2 separate regions of the Homo sapiens genome follow, and region 2 is linked to region 1. The links are contacts of gene promoters, found by promoter capture Hi-C in blood cells and fetal thymus (Javierre and others, 2016). All regions are on one chromosome and are shown on one strand. Each heading gives the region's core, a stretch centred on a gene start or on the middle of the fragment in contact. The rest is flanking DNA. Distances are from core to core; before and after follow the strand shown.

The links. Contacts are between HindIII fragments. The CHiCAGO score rates a contact against its expected background, and 5 or more counts as called.
Region 2: a fragment that was not itself captured here is called in contact with the fragment with the promoter of RXYLT1-AS1 in region 1 in 1 of 17 cell types (M0 macrophages); the score reaches 5.0 in M0 macrophages.

The regions. Positions count from the first base shown.
Region 1 is chr12:63,818,976-63,826,254 of GRCh38, forward strand. It overlaps RXYLT1-AS1 (RXYLT1 antisense RNA 1), which reads right to left and starts at 3,181. Exons shown (of 4, transcript NR_126167.1): 1 at 2,954-3,181. It overlaps MIR10527 (microRNA 10527), which reads left to right and starts at 4,688; the gene lies at 4,688-4,752. It also overlaps the pseudogene PABPC1P4. The HindIII fragment of the contact is 5,765 bases long and covers 1-3,748 here.
Region 2 is chr12:64,372,004-64,379,282 of GRCh38, forward strand. The region is part of intron 1 of C12orf56 (chromosome 12 open reading frame 56); the gene reads right to left. Among named protein-coding and RNA genes, the nearest start is that of C12orf56, 15 kb to the right of the region's middle. The HindIII fragment of the contact is 1,797 bases long and covers 1,932-3,728 here.

The sequences.
Region 1 (7,279 bases), core at 1,931-4,430:
ATCAAGCAGAAATTCTCCAGCTGAAAAATGCAATTGGCATACTGAAGAATACATTAGAGGCCTTTAATAGCAGAATGAATCACGCAGAAGAAAGAATTAGTGAGCATGAGAACAGCTATTTGAAAATACACAGTCAGAAGAGACAAAAGAAAAAAATAATAAAAAACAATGAAGCATCCCTAAAGGATCTAGAAAATAGCCTCAAAAGGGAAAATCTAAGAGTTATTGGCCTTAAAAAGGAGGTAGAGAGACAGGGGTAGAAAGTTTATTCAAAGCGATAATAACAGAGAACTTCCCAAACATAGAGAAAGATATAAATATCCAAGTACAAGAAGATTACAGAACACTAAGGTGATTTAACCCAAAGATAACTACCTTAAGGCATTTAATAATCAAACTCCCACAGGTCAAGGATAAAGAAAGGATCCTAAAAGCAGCAAGAGAAAAGAAACAAATAACATACAATGGAGCTCTAATATATCTGGCAGCAGACTTTTCAGTGAAAATCTTACAGGCCAAGGGAGAGTGGCATGACATATTTAAAATGCTGAATAAAAAAAATACTTTTACCCTAGAATAGTATATCCAGTCCAAACATCCTTCAAATATGGAGGATAAATAAAGACTTTCCCAGACAAACAAAAACTGAGGGATTTCATCAATACCAGACCTGTCCTACAAGAAATGCTAAAGAGAGTTCTTCAATTTGAAAGAAAAGGTACAAAACTCACTGGTAATAAATAAGTACATGGAGAAACACAGACTATGATAACACTGTAACTGTGGTATGTAAACTACTCTTGTCATAAGCAGAAAGATTAAATGATGAATCAATCAAAAATAATAACTATGACAACTTTTTAAGACATGAACAGTACAATAAGATATAAATAGAAACAACAAAAAATTAAAAAGGGGGGATGAAGTTAGAGTGTAAACTTTTTATTAGGTTTCTTTTTGCTTGTTTGTTTATACAAACAGTGATAAGTTTTTATCAGCTTAAAATAATGGGTTATAAGATAGCGTTTGCAAGCCGCATGGTAATCTCAAATGAAAAAAACATGCCATGAATACACAAAAAACAAAAAGCAAGGAACTAAATCATATCACCAGAGAAAATAATATTTACTAAGGGAAAACAGGAAGAAAAGAAAGAAAGAAGACCACAAAACAGCCAGAAAACAATTAACAAAATTGCAAAAGTAAGTTCTTACTTATCAATAATAACATTGAATGTAAATTCTTCAATGGACTAACCTCTCCAATCAAAAGACATAGAGTAGCTAAATGGATAAAAAAATAAGACCCACTGATCTGTTGCTTACAAGAAAGACACTTCACCTACAAAGACACACATAGACTGAAAATAAAGGGATAGAAAGATACTCCCTGCCAATAAAAACCAAAAAAGAGCAGGAGTAGCTATACTTAGACAAAATCGATTTCAAGACAAATCTAAAGAAGAGACAAAGAAGGTCACTATGTAAGGATAAAGGGGTCAGTTCAGCAAGAGGATATAACAATTTTAAATGTATATGTGCCCAACACTGGAGCACTCAGATATATAAAGTAAATATTATTAGAGCTAAAGAGAGAGATAGTTCCCAATATGATACTACCTGAAGACTTCAACACCCCACTTTCAGCACTGGACAGATCTTCCAGATAGAAAATTAATGAATTGGACCTAATCTGCATTATAAAACAAACGGATCTAATAGATATTTATGGAACATTTCATCCAATGGCTGCAGAACACACATTATTTTCCTCAGCACATAGATTATTCTCAAGAATAGACCATCTATTAGGTCACAAAATAAGTCTTAAAACATTAAAAAAAAAAAAAAAAAAACTGGGCCGGGTGCAGTGGCTCATGCCTGTAACCCAACACTTTGGGAGGCCGAGGCAGGCAGATCACAAGGTCAGGAGTTTGAGACCAGCCTGGCCAACATAGTGAAACCCCATCTCTACTAAAAATGCAAAAACTAGCCAGGCATGGTGGAACACACCTGTAGTCCCCGCTACTCGGGAGGCTGAGGCAAGGGAGTCACTCGAACCCAGGAGGCAGAGGTTGCAATGAGTTGAGATCACGCCACTGCACTCCAGCCCGGGTGACAGAGGGAGACTCAGTCTAAAAAAAACCCTGAAATAATATCAAGCATTTTCTCTGACCACAATGAAACAAAACTAGAAATTAATAACAAGAGGAATTTTGGAAACTATGCAAACATATGGAAATTAAACAATATACTCCTGAACGACCAGTGGATCAATGAAGTAATTAAAAAGGAAATTGAAATATTTATTGAATCAAATGATAATGGAAACACAACATACCAAAACCTATGGGATACAGCAAAAGCAGTACTAAGAGGGAATTTTATAGCTACAAGTGCCTACATCAGAAAAAAAGAAAAACTGGCCGGGCGTGGTGGCTCACGCCTGTAATCCCAGCACTTTGGGAGGGCTAGGCGGACAGATTACCTGAGGTCAGGAGTTCCATACCAGCCTGGCCAACATGGTGAAACCCCGTTTCTACTGAAAATACAAAAATTAGCCCCTTCTCCCGGCAGTTAGTGCTCAGAGTGCGGAGTGTGTGCTCCAGGCTCGGAACATACATTTATTATTAAAAAAAAATCTAAAAAAATATTTTAAAAACTTTCCCACAATTTACAAAAAATCCGCCTCTCCCCTGCCATAGACTTTTATTTTTTTCTTCTTCTTCTTTTATAAAGTAACCCCGTGAAGCAGCCGAGGCCGACTCGCCCGCCCGCAGCAGCTCCAAAAAGGAACCAAGAGACCGAGGCCTTCCCGCTGTCCGGACTGACACCTCCACCTTCGCCCGCAGCCAGCGGCAGCGGATCAACACCATTCTGGGGCGGTGAAGTAGTTTTCGATTCCGGGTGATTTTTGTCCCTCTGCGCTTGCGCTTGCGCTTGCCCCCGCTCACCTTCCCCCAGCTCCGGCCCCTAGCCCCAGCATTCGCTCTCCTCCTCTCACGGAAAGGTCGCGGCCTGTGGCCCTGCGAGCAGCAGTGCCGAGATGAACCCCAGTGCCCCCAGCTACGTCCTCGCTGTACGTGGGGGACCTCCATCCCGACGTGACCGAGGCGATGCTCTACAAGAAGTTCAGCGCGGCCGGGCTCATCCTCTCCATCCGGGTCTGCAGGGACATGATCACCCACGGCTCCTTGGGCTACGCGTATGTGAACTTCCAGTAGCCCGCGGACGCGGAGCATGCTGTGAACACTATGAATTTTGATGTTATAAAGGGCAAGCCAGTACGCATCGTGTAGTCTCAGCGTGATCCATCACTTCGCAAAAGTGGAGTGGGCTACATATTCATTAAAAATCTGGACAAATCCATTGATAATAAAGCACTGTATGATACATTTTTCTGCTTTTGGTAACATCCTTTCATGTAAGGTGGGCTGTGATGAAAATGATTCCAAGGGCTATGGATCTGTACACTTTGAGACACAGGAAGCAGCTGAAAGAGCTATGGAAAAAATGAATGGAATGCTCCTAAATGATCGCAAAGTATTTGTTGGACGATTTATGTCTCATAAAGAACGAGAAGCTGAACTTGGAGCTACGTGAAAGAGTTCACCAATGTTTACATCAAGAATTTCGGAGAAGACATGGATGATGAGCGCCTTAAGAATCTCTTTGGCAAGTTTGGGCCTGCCTTAAATGTGAAAGTAATGACTGGTGAAAGTGGAAAATCTAAAGGATTTGGATTTGTAAGCTTTGAAAGGCTTGAAGATGCACAGAAAGCTGTGGATGAAATGAAAGGAGCTCAATGGAAAACAAATTTATGTAGGTAGAGCTCAGAAAAAAGTGGAACGGCAGACAGAACTTAAGCGCAAATTTGAACAGGTGAGGCAAGATAGGATCACCAGATACCACCGTGTTAATCTTTATGTGAAAAATCTTGATGATGGCATTAATAATTAACGTCTCCGGAAAGAGTTTTCTCCATTTGGTACAATCACCAGTGCAAAGGTTATGATGGAGGGTGGTCGCTGCAAAGGGTTTGGTTTTGTATGTTTCTCCTCACCAGAAGAAGCCACTAAAGCAGTTACAGAAATGAATGGTAGAATTGTGGCCACAAAGCCATTGTATGTTGCTTTAGCTCAGCGCAAAGAAGAGTGCCAGGCTCACCTCACTAACCAGTATATGCAAAGAATGGCAAGTGTACGAGCTGTGCCCAATCTTGAAATCAACCCCTACCAGCCAGCACCTCCTTCAGGTTACTTCATGGCAGCTATCCCACAGACTCAGAACGGTGCTGCATACTATCCTCCTAGCCAAATTGCTCAACTAAGACCAAGTCCTCGCTGGACTGCTGAGGGTGCCAGACCCCATCCATTCCAAAATAGGCCCAGTGCTATCCGCCCGGCTGCTCCTAGACCACCATTTAGTACTATGAGACCAGCTTCTTCACAGGTTCCATGAGTTATGTCAACACAGCGTGTTGCTAACACATCGACACAGACAATGGGTCCACGTCCTGCAGCTGCTGCTGCTGCCACTCCACATTATAACTATGCTGCGGGAGTTCGCAGTCCTCAGAAACATCTTAATGCACAGCCACAAGTTACAATGCAACAGCCTGCTGCTCATGTACAAGGTCAGGAACCTTTGACTGCTTCCATGTTGGTATCTGCCCATGCTCAAGAGCAAAAGCAAATGTTGGGTGAACGGCTGTTTCCTCTTATTCAAGCCATGCACCTTACTCTTGCTGGTAAAATCACTGGCATGTTGTTGGAGATTGGTAATTCAGAACTTCTTCATATGCTGGAGTCTCCAGAGTCACTCCGTTCTAAGGTTAATGAAACTGTAGCTGTACTACAAGCCCACCAAGCTGAAGTGGCTGCCCAGAAAGCAGTTAACCGTGCCACCGGTGTTCCAACTGTTTAAAATTGATCAGGTACCATGAAAAGAAACTTGTGCTTCACAGAAGAAAAATATCTAAACATCGAAAAATGTAAATATTATTTTTTTAATAAACATTGCAAAATATAAAATAAATTTAAAAAGGAAAAGAAACTTTGAACCTTATGTACCGAGAAAATGCCAGGTCTAGCAAACATAATGCTAGTCCTAGATTACTTATTGATTTAAAAATTTTAAAAAAACACAAAAATAGTAAAATATGAAAACCAATTAATGTTTTATAGACTCTGGGAAAAAATTTTCAGCAAAGTGCAAAAATTTAAAGCATTCCTTTCTTTAATTTTGTAATTCTTTACTGTGGAATAGTTCAAAATGTCAGTTCTGTTTTAAGTAACAGAATTGATAACTGAGCTAGGAAACGTAATTTGGATTATAAAATTATTGCTTTAATAACAATTCCTTAAATGGTGAAAAAAATAATAATAATAAAATACAAAAATTAGCCGGGCATAGTGGCACGCGCCTGTAATCCCAGCTACTCAGGAGACTGAGGCAGGAGAATTTCTTGAACCCGGGAGGCAGAGGTTACAGTGAGCTGAGATCGCATCATTGTGTTCCAGCCTGGGTGACGGAGCAAGACCCCATCTCAAAAAAGAAGGAAGGAAGGGGGTGGGGGACGGGGAGGGGAGGGGAGAAGAGGCAGAAGGGTATTTGAGGGCATATGCTTTTTTCTCTCCATTAAATGAGGAACATAATATCACCCTGAAATTCCACTCCATTTTGTTAACCATGTGCAGAGGATATCGCTTTTAAAATACATATATTAAGGAACAGGCAACAGAGATTGTCCCTTAGGCGGGAAGCTGATGTGTAAAACAGACTCTTTTCCCTCACTGTATACATTTTAATACTGCATGGGTTTTGCATCATATGCTTGTATCTCCCAATTAATTGTAAAGCCAACAAAATCTTGGCTCAACTTAATGAATAATAAAAGTAATAGAGGGACCCTTTGACTTATATATGTCTATTATCTTCCGCATATATTTTGTTATCCCAATATACCTTGCACTGTAGCAAGGAATACATGTGATCATTTCAGCAGTTATAAAAGATCACAAAAAGTAGGGGAGAAAGGAGGAAAGGTAGGAAGGGAGGGAGGGAAGAATAGAAAGGAAAGGAATAAAATGTAGGCTGGTATAATAAAGTTGGTGCCGAGCGTGGTGGCTCACACCTGTAATCACAACACCTTGGGAGGTCAAAGCGGGCAGATCACTTGAGCCCAGGAGTTCTGAGACCAGCCTGGATAACATGGAGAAACCCCATCTCTACAAAATTACAAAAATTATCTGGGCATGGTGGCGCACAGCTGCAGTCCCAGCTACTCAGGAGGCTGAGGTGGGAGGATCACTTGAGCCCAGGAGGTTAAGGCTGCAGTGAGCTGTGATTGCACCACCACACTCCAGCCTTTTGAAACAGAGCCTGTCTCAAAAATAATAATAATATGGCTGGGCGTAGTGGCTCATGCCTGTAATCCCAGCTCTTTGGGAGGCCAAGACGGGTGATTCATTTGAGGTCAGGAGTTCAAGACCAGCCTGACCTACATAATTAAACCCTGTTTCTACTAAAAATACAAAAAATTAGCTGTGAGTGGTGGCATGTGCCTGTAATACCAGCTACTCAGGAGGCTGAGGCAGGAGAATCGCTTGAACCCAGGAGGTGGAGGTTACAGTGAGTCGAGATCATGCCACTGCCCTCCAATCTGGGCTACAGAGCAAAACTCTGTCCAAAAAATTAAAATTAAAATAATAGTAATACAAAGTTGGTGATTTGTGCTGAGCCAGTTTCTCTTTCAGGGGAAAAACATCACATCAGAAAACTAGATAAATATTATGATTAAAAGATATGAAATAGAATTTGATAAAAAGACATCAGATAGTCAAGGGTAAATTGTCAGTTAATAACAATATTTTTAAATGCTTTGTGGAGGGAAATTCCATGTCACAAAGACTTAGAAAAAAAGAGAAGGAAGACAAGCCTATCACGTATATCTATCTATAGATCTAGCCATATCTCCATCTCTCTATCATCCATCTACCTGTCTATATTTATATACCTATGGCAGATAGATATGTCTAGATTAAATAGTTAGGTAAATAGATAAAAATATATTAATTTGAAGTCTTTATGTACTAAGTACCATTTGATAGTTTTGGTTACAAAATAGAAATACAGAAACGGAAGTCATTTATTGTATTATGCCATGGAAAGTGGATGACTCTCATGGTGCAAGTGCAGTCTATGTCCGAAAGAGGGAGTAGTGAAATCACAGATAGCATCATGGTTTTTCTGACTTTTTGCTTCTGATATTTCCCAAC
Region 2 (7,279 bases), core at 1,580-4,079, 550 kb after region 1:
CTACTGACCTCAAGTGACCCTCCCTCCTCGGCCTCCATAAGTCCTAGGATTACAGGCATGAGCCACTGCACCTAGCCACTTACACAGTACTTTCTCTGTTCAAAATCTGTTCTAAGCATTTTTTGTACATTTACTTATTTGATCTTCATACCTACCCTAGAAGATAGATATTATATGTTATAGTTGAGGAAACTGAGGCATGGAGGAAGTTAAGGGATTTGCCCAAAGGTTCATAAAACCCAAGAGTTCATTTGTAAGCAAGTATTGAGAACATGCTATTAAACGATGTTTTTTACCTTTGTTCAAAAAAAACCCTAAGAGTTTAATCATATAAACTGATTTGTAGTTTAGCAAAACAATTCATTTTTTGATCATTTAAATTTGAAAGTATTCCATGGCAATATTTTATTGCGAACTATGTCTGACTACCTATTATTTTAACCTAAATCTTAAGCTGTAGGAAATGGTTTGAATTTAATGATCTTGAAGCTTTTAGTAATTTTTTTTAGGTTTTGCTTTTCTTTTCCTTGAGACAGAGTCTCGCTCTGTTGTCCAGGCTGGAGTGCAATGGCACGATCTTGGCTCACTGCAACCACTGCCTCCAGGTTCAAGCGATTCTCCTCCCTCAGCTTCCTGAGTAGCTGGGATTACAGGCACACACCAATATGTCCAGCTAATTTTTGTATTTTCAGTAGAGACGAAGTTTCACCATGTTGGCCAGGCTGGGTCTCAAACTCCTGACCTCAGGTGATCCGCCCACCTCAGCCTCCCAAAGTGCTGGGATTACAGGCATGAGCCACCATGCCTGGCCAGGCTCTACTAAGTCCCTATTTGAGTTTAGATACATTGTAGAAACCTGATCAAGCACATGCTTTTCCCTCCTTTTGGAACACACTAGCCATTTTTCTCTGCCTAGAAACTTCTAATCATTCTCTAAGACTAAGCTTTTTACTTCCTCGATGAAACTTTACCTGCGTCATGCCCTCGACAGAATATATCACTCTTCTGGTTTCCTGCAATATTCTGCTTATTATATCTGTTTTCACATTTCATTATCATTATCTGTTTATAACTGTTTTCCTTCTTCCTCATTTGCTTGCCTCCTTCCCTAAGTTATGAGTTACTCAAAAACAGGTACCATTTTTTATTCACTTTTATGTTTTTGGTTCCTGGTAGTTCAAAACATTTGTGGAATACTCCATATGAAATCTAATATGGAGGCAAGCAGATTACTCGAGCTCAGAAGTTTGAGACCAGCCTGGGCAATATGGTGAAACCCTGTCTCTACAAAAAATATGAAAAATTAGCTGGGTGTGGTGGCATGTACTTGTAGTCCTTGCACAGGCTGAGGTGGGAGGATTGCTTGAGTCCAGAAGGCAGAGGTTGCAGTGAGCTGAGATTGCACCACTGCACCCTAGCGTGGGCAACAGTGCAAGACCTGTCTTGAAAAAAAATAAAGAAAACAAAACCTGATATCCATGTAATGGAAGTGCACAATGTAGAGAAAAATTTGGAGATCAACTGGGCCACAGTTTTGAAATCAGTGTAAGACCCAGCAAGTGCTAAATTGTGAGACATCTTTCAGCTTCCATGGTCCTTTCAGGACCCAACTTCTCTGCACAGCAAACTCTAACTCTCCAGTCTCCACTAAAGGAAGGAAAGCAAGTAACAAATTATTTGTTGTAATTTAATGAGTCACCTGATCTGAGAGTATTTCAAAGAATCTAAAAGAGGACCAATGGTAAACCCAAAGGATTGAATCTACCGATAATTTTTTTTAGGGGGTTAAAATTTATTTATATGTTTTTTTAATCTTCTCGTTCATGTTCTCTCATGAAAATCTACTAACACAGTGGCCAATATATGAAAACATTCTGAGTAGCTTTTCCCCAAATTAAACCACATTAGCAATTACCTTCACATTGTACATAAGCTTAGTCTTAAGTAGAAACTATTTTTCCATTTGGAACTTGGCAAACCCTCTCATTTTCATAATTAAAAACCTCATTGCCATCTCCACCAGGTGGTCTTTTTTTCCATTATATTCTACCTGGGCTTTAGTGTACCAATCCCTAAGGAAGTCTGGGTAGATGAGCTATTTTTAGAATCTATGAATATTGCTGGCATGAATGATCCATCTACAAATTCCCAAAAGAATTACCAGTTTTGAGAATTAGGCAGTGCCTCATCATAATATTGAAAATTATTTCAGTGTTAGGCTTGAAAAATCATTGCCTCGGGGTCTGGATACACAGCCAAGAAAGACTAAAAGTAAAAATCTTTCAAATCCTGGCCCTAGGAAAAGGATGCTACATCCCACCTGGGCCTTTTCAGCTAAACTGGTCCTTGAACCTCATCAACAACAGCAAAGACACCAGTCTGGGCTTTGAAGGATGACAATCTTGAATGGAGAGTCATGGGGTCTCTAAGAATAATATATCACTCACAAATGTATCTACATCATTTTTCACCATATTTATATTTGCAACTGATATTAATTTATCTTACTTTTATCAAAACATTACTTTTTTTTCCAACTTTTTTTTTTCTTTTTTTTTCCGAGATGGAGTCTCGCTGTCACCTAGGCTGGAGTGCAGTGGCGAGATCTCGGCTCACTGCAAACTCCGCCTCCCAGGTTCCAGTGATTCTCCTGCCTCAGCCTCCTGAGTAGCTGGGATTACAGGTGCCCACCACCATGCCCGGCTAATTTTTAAATTTTTATTAGAGACAGGATTTCACCATGTTGGCCAGACTAGTCTCAAACTCCTGACCTCAGGTGATCTGCCTACCTTGGCTTCCCAAAGTGCTGGGATTACAGGTGTGAGCCACCATCCCCAGTCTTTATTTTCAACTTTTAAGTTCAGGGGTACATGTGCAGAATGTGCAGGTTTGCTATTAGGTTGGTGCAAACATAATTGCGGTTTTTGCATTGTTGAAATTTGCTGTTTGATATTGGAATACGTTCTTAAATAAATGTGGTTATGTTATACATTGTTTTAATGCATGTTTCTTGCTTTTTTTGCTAATGACTTATTACTTGCTGTTTATTTTATATTTATTTTATTATTTATTTATTTATTTTTTGAGAGGGAGTCTCACTCTGGAGTACAGTGGTGTGACCATGGTTCACTGCAACCTCCGCCTCCCAGGTTCAAGCAATTCTCCTGCCTCAGCCTCCTGAGTAGCTGGCAGTACAGGCCCGTGCCACCATGCCCAGCTAATTTTGTATTTTTAGTAGAGACAGTTTCACCATGTTGGCCAGGCTGGTCTTGAACTCCTGGCCTCAAGTGATTCACCTGCTTCTGCCTCCCAAAGTGCTGGGATTACAGGCATGAGCCACCATGCCAAGCCCATATTTTATATTTATTTTAGAGTATGGAAATGAGGTTAGAGGAAAAGGAAACTATTTTTGTCTTTTTGAGCAATTTTCTTATTCAAGTTCAAAATGGGTCATAAAGCAGTGGAGACAACTCGCAACATCAACAATGCATTTGACCCAGGAACTGCTAACAAGTGTACAGTGTAGTGGTGGTTCAAGAAGTTCTGCAAAGGAGACCAGAGCCTTGAAGATGAGGAGCATAGAGGCTGGCCATTGGAAGCTGACAATAACAAATTAAGAGCAATCATCAAAGCTGATCCTCTTACAACTACACAAAAAGTTTTGGAAGAACTCAACATCAACCATTCTATGGTCATTCAGCATCTGAAGCAAATTAGAAATGTGAAAAAGCTTGATAAATGCATGTCTCATGAGTTGAGCGAAAATTTAAAAAATATTGTTCTAAAGTGTCATCTTCTCTTATTTTATGCAACAACGAACAGTTTTTCTGATTGGATTGTGATGTGCGATGAAAAGTGGATTTTATACTACAATCAGCGACAACCAGCTCAGTAGTGGGACTGAGAAGAAGCTCCAAAGCATTTCCCAAAGCCAACCTGCACTGAAAAAAAGGTCATGGTCACCTTGTGTGGTGATCTGCTGCCAGTCTGATCTACTACAGCTTTCTGAATCCCAGCAAACCCATTACATCTGAGAATTATGCTCAGCAAATAGATGAGATGCACCAAAACTGCAACGCCTGCAGCCAACATTGGTCAATAGGAAAGGCCCAATTCTTTTCCACAACAATGTCCGACTGCGCATCACACAACCAACACTTCAGAAGTTGAAAGATTGGGCTACAAAATTCTGCCTCATCCGTCATATTCACCTGACCTCTTGCCAACTGACTACCACTTCTTCAAGCATCTTGACAACTTTTGGCAGGGAAAATGCTTCCACAACCAGCAGGATGCAGAAAATGCTTTCCAAGAGTTCGTTGGGCCCCAAAGCATGGATTTTTAAGCTATAGGAATTAACAAACTTATTTCTTGTTGGCAAAAATGTATTGATTGTAATGGTTACTATCTTAATGAATAAAGATGTGTTTGAGCCTAGTTATAATGATTTAAAATCCACGGTCCGAAACAGCAATTACTTTTGTACCAATCTAATACATAGATAAATCCGTGCCATGGTGACTTGCTGCACAGATCATTCCATCACCCAGGTGTTAAGCCCAGCATCCACTAGCTATTCTTCCTGATCCTCTCCCTTCTCCCTTCTCCCACCCCCACCCTCTGACAGGCCCCAGTGTCTGTCATTCCCCACTATGTGTCCATGTGTTCTCATCATTTAGCTCCCACTTATAAGTGAGAACATGTGGTATTTAGTTTTCTGTTCCTGCATTAATTTGCTGAGGATAATGGCTTCCAGCTCCATCCATGTCTCTGCAAAGGACATGATCTCATTCCTTTTGATGCTTGCATAGTATTCCATGGTGTATATGTACCACATTTTCTTTTTTTTTTCTTTAGATGGAGTCTTGCTCTGTTGTCCTGGCTGGAGTGCAGCGGCCAGGTAGTTCTGCCTCTAGGTCTTTGAGGAATTGCCACACTGTCTTCCACAATGATTCAATTAATTTACACTACCACCAACATTGTAAAAGGGTTCCTTTTTCTCCACAATCTCACCAGCATCTGTTGTTTTTGACTTTTTAATAATCACCATTCTAACTGGTGTGAGATAGTATCTCACTTTCGTTTGGATTTGCATTCTGTAGTGATTGGTGATGTTGAACTTTTTTCACATATTTGTTGGCCACATGTATATCTTCTTTTGAGAAGTATCTGTTCATGTCCTTTGCCCACTTTTTTTTTTTTTTTTTTGAGGAGTCTCGCTATGTTGCCCAGGCTGGAGTGCAGTGGTGTGATCTCGGCTCACTGCAACCTCCACCTCCTGGATTCAAACGATTCTCAGCCTCAGCCTCCTGAGGAGCTGGGATTACAGGCAAGTGCACCACCCCCAGCTAATTTTTTTATTTTTAGTAGAGGCGGGGTTTCATCATATTGGCCAGGCTGGTCTGGAACTCCTGACCTCAAGTGATCTGCCCACCTCAGTCTCTCAAAGTGCTAGGATTACAGGCGTGAGCCACTGCACCTGGCCTCTTGGCCCACTTTTTAATATGTTTGTGATTTCTTTGTAAATTTTAAAATGTTACTTTCAAAATGCAAAGGAGTACCTCTTATTTCTTGGTTTCCCATATTTTGTGAATAAATCTATATTTATCTTATCCGTTATTCTTGCTTTCATAGCCTTGATTCATATTTCTTTTATCAGCTTTTAATTTCAGAGAAAAAAAGACCCCTAAGCTTTCAGCAGTTGATTATCTAGTTTCTGATTTGTTCAGTTCAATTCACCATAAGTATTTTTGAGCTCTTACTACAAAGGCCAAAACTGAAACATACAAAATGTAAGATGGGTTTCTGTTTTCAAAAGGCTTAAAGTCTTGCGGGAATTCAGGCAACCAAAAAAAATTTTTTTTTATGATCTACTAGGTACCAAAGGAGCTGTAGCCTAGAGATTAGAGCACTGACTCTGGAGCCAGATGATCTAAATTCAAATTCTGGTTCTGCCACTTAATGGACAACCTTGGGCAAATTGCTTAAATTCTCTGTAATTCAGGTTTCTTGTCTGTAAAACTGAGCTAAGAATATTATCTGAGTTGTTATGAGGATGAAGTTCCAAGCTAAGCACTTAGAACAGCATCTAACTGGCATACAGTAAGCACTCAATAAATGTCAACTATTTGAGATGGTCATTAAGTACTGCTCACAAATATTACTGTTTTCCTTTCTTCCAGACATGTGGAATGCACACATGGTTGGATCACATTTTCCTGTCCCCTTTTAAGTTAGGCATGGCAATGTGCCTGACTCTGGCTAATAAAATGTGAAAAGTGGCATGTATCAGTTCTAGGTAGAAGCTTAAAAACCGGTACATAAATTTACTAAGTTAATTTCTCCCTGTCATGGTGAATAAGCAAACATGTGCTGAGATGGATGAGATGAAACCTCTTATACTAAGATGTGTGACTAAGTATCCCATATCTTGGGACTTTTTTTTTTTTTGAGATGGAGTCCTACTGTCTCCCAAGCTGGAGTACAGTGGCACAATCTCAGCTCACTGCAACCTCTGCCTCCCAGGTTCAAGAGATTCTCATGCCTCAGCCTCCCAAGTAACTGGGACTACAGGCATGTGCCAAGACACCCAGCTAATTTTTGTATCTTTTAGTAGAGACAGGGTTTCACCATGTTGGCCAGGCTAGTCTCAAACTCCTGGCCTCAAATGATCTGCCCACCTTGGCCTCCCAAATTGCTGTGATTACAGGCGTGGGCCACCACACCCAGCCCATATATTGGGACTTTTAAAAATGAACAGAACCTGGCTGGGCATGGTGGCTCACGCCTGTAATCCCAGCACTTTGGGAGGCTGAGGCAGGTGGATCACTTGAGGCCAGGAGTTTGAGACCAGTCTGGCCACCATAGTGAAATCCCGTCTCAGTTAAAAATACAAACATTAGCCGGGTGTGGTGGTGCGTGCCTGTAGTCCCAGCTACTCAGGAGGCTGAGGCAGGAGAATCACTTGAACCCAGGAGGCAGAGGTTGCAGTAAGCCAAGATTATGCCACTGCACTCCAGCCTGGGTGACAGGAATGAAACCCTGTCTCAAAAAAAAAAAAAAAAGTGAACAGAACCCCTTGCTAATCTGTGATAAATAAGTAGCTTGAATCCTGAATCAGACCTAAACCTCTGTTGTGTTGAAGCATTGAGACTTTGGGGCTATTTGTTAGTGCAGCTTAATCTGACCAATACACTGTCCTTACAATCACTGGGAATATAGTAGTGAATCAAATTGACAAGATGCCTGCCTTCATGAAGCTTCTTAAGACTTGAATGCA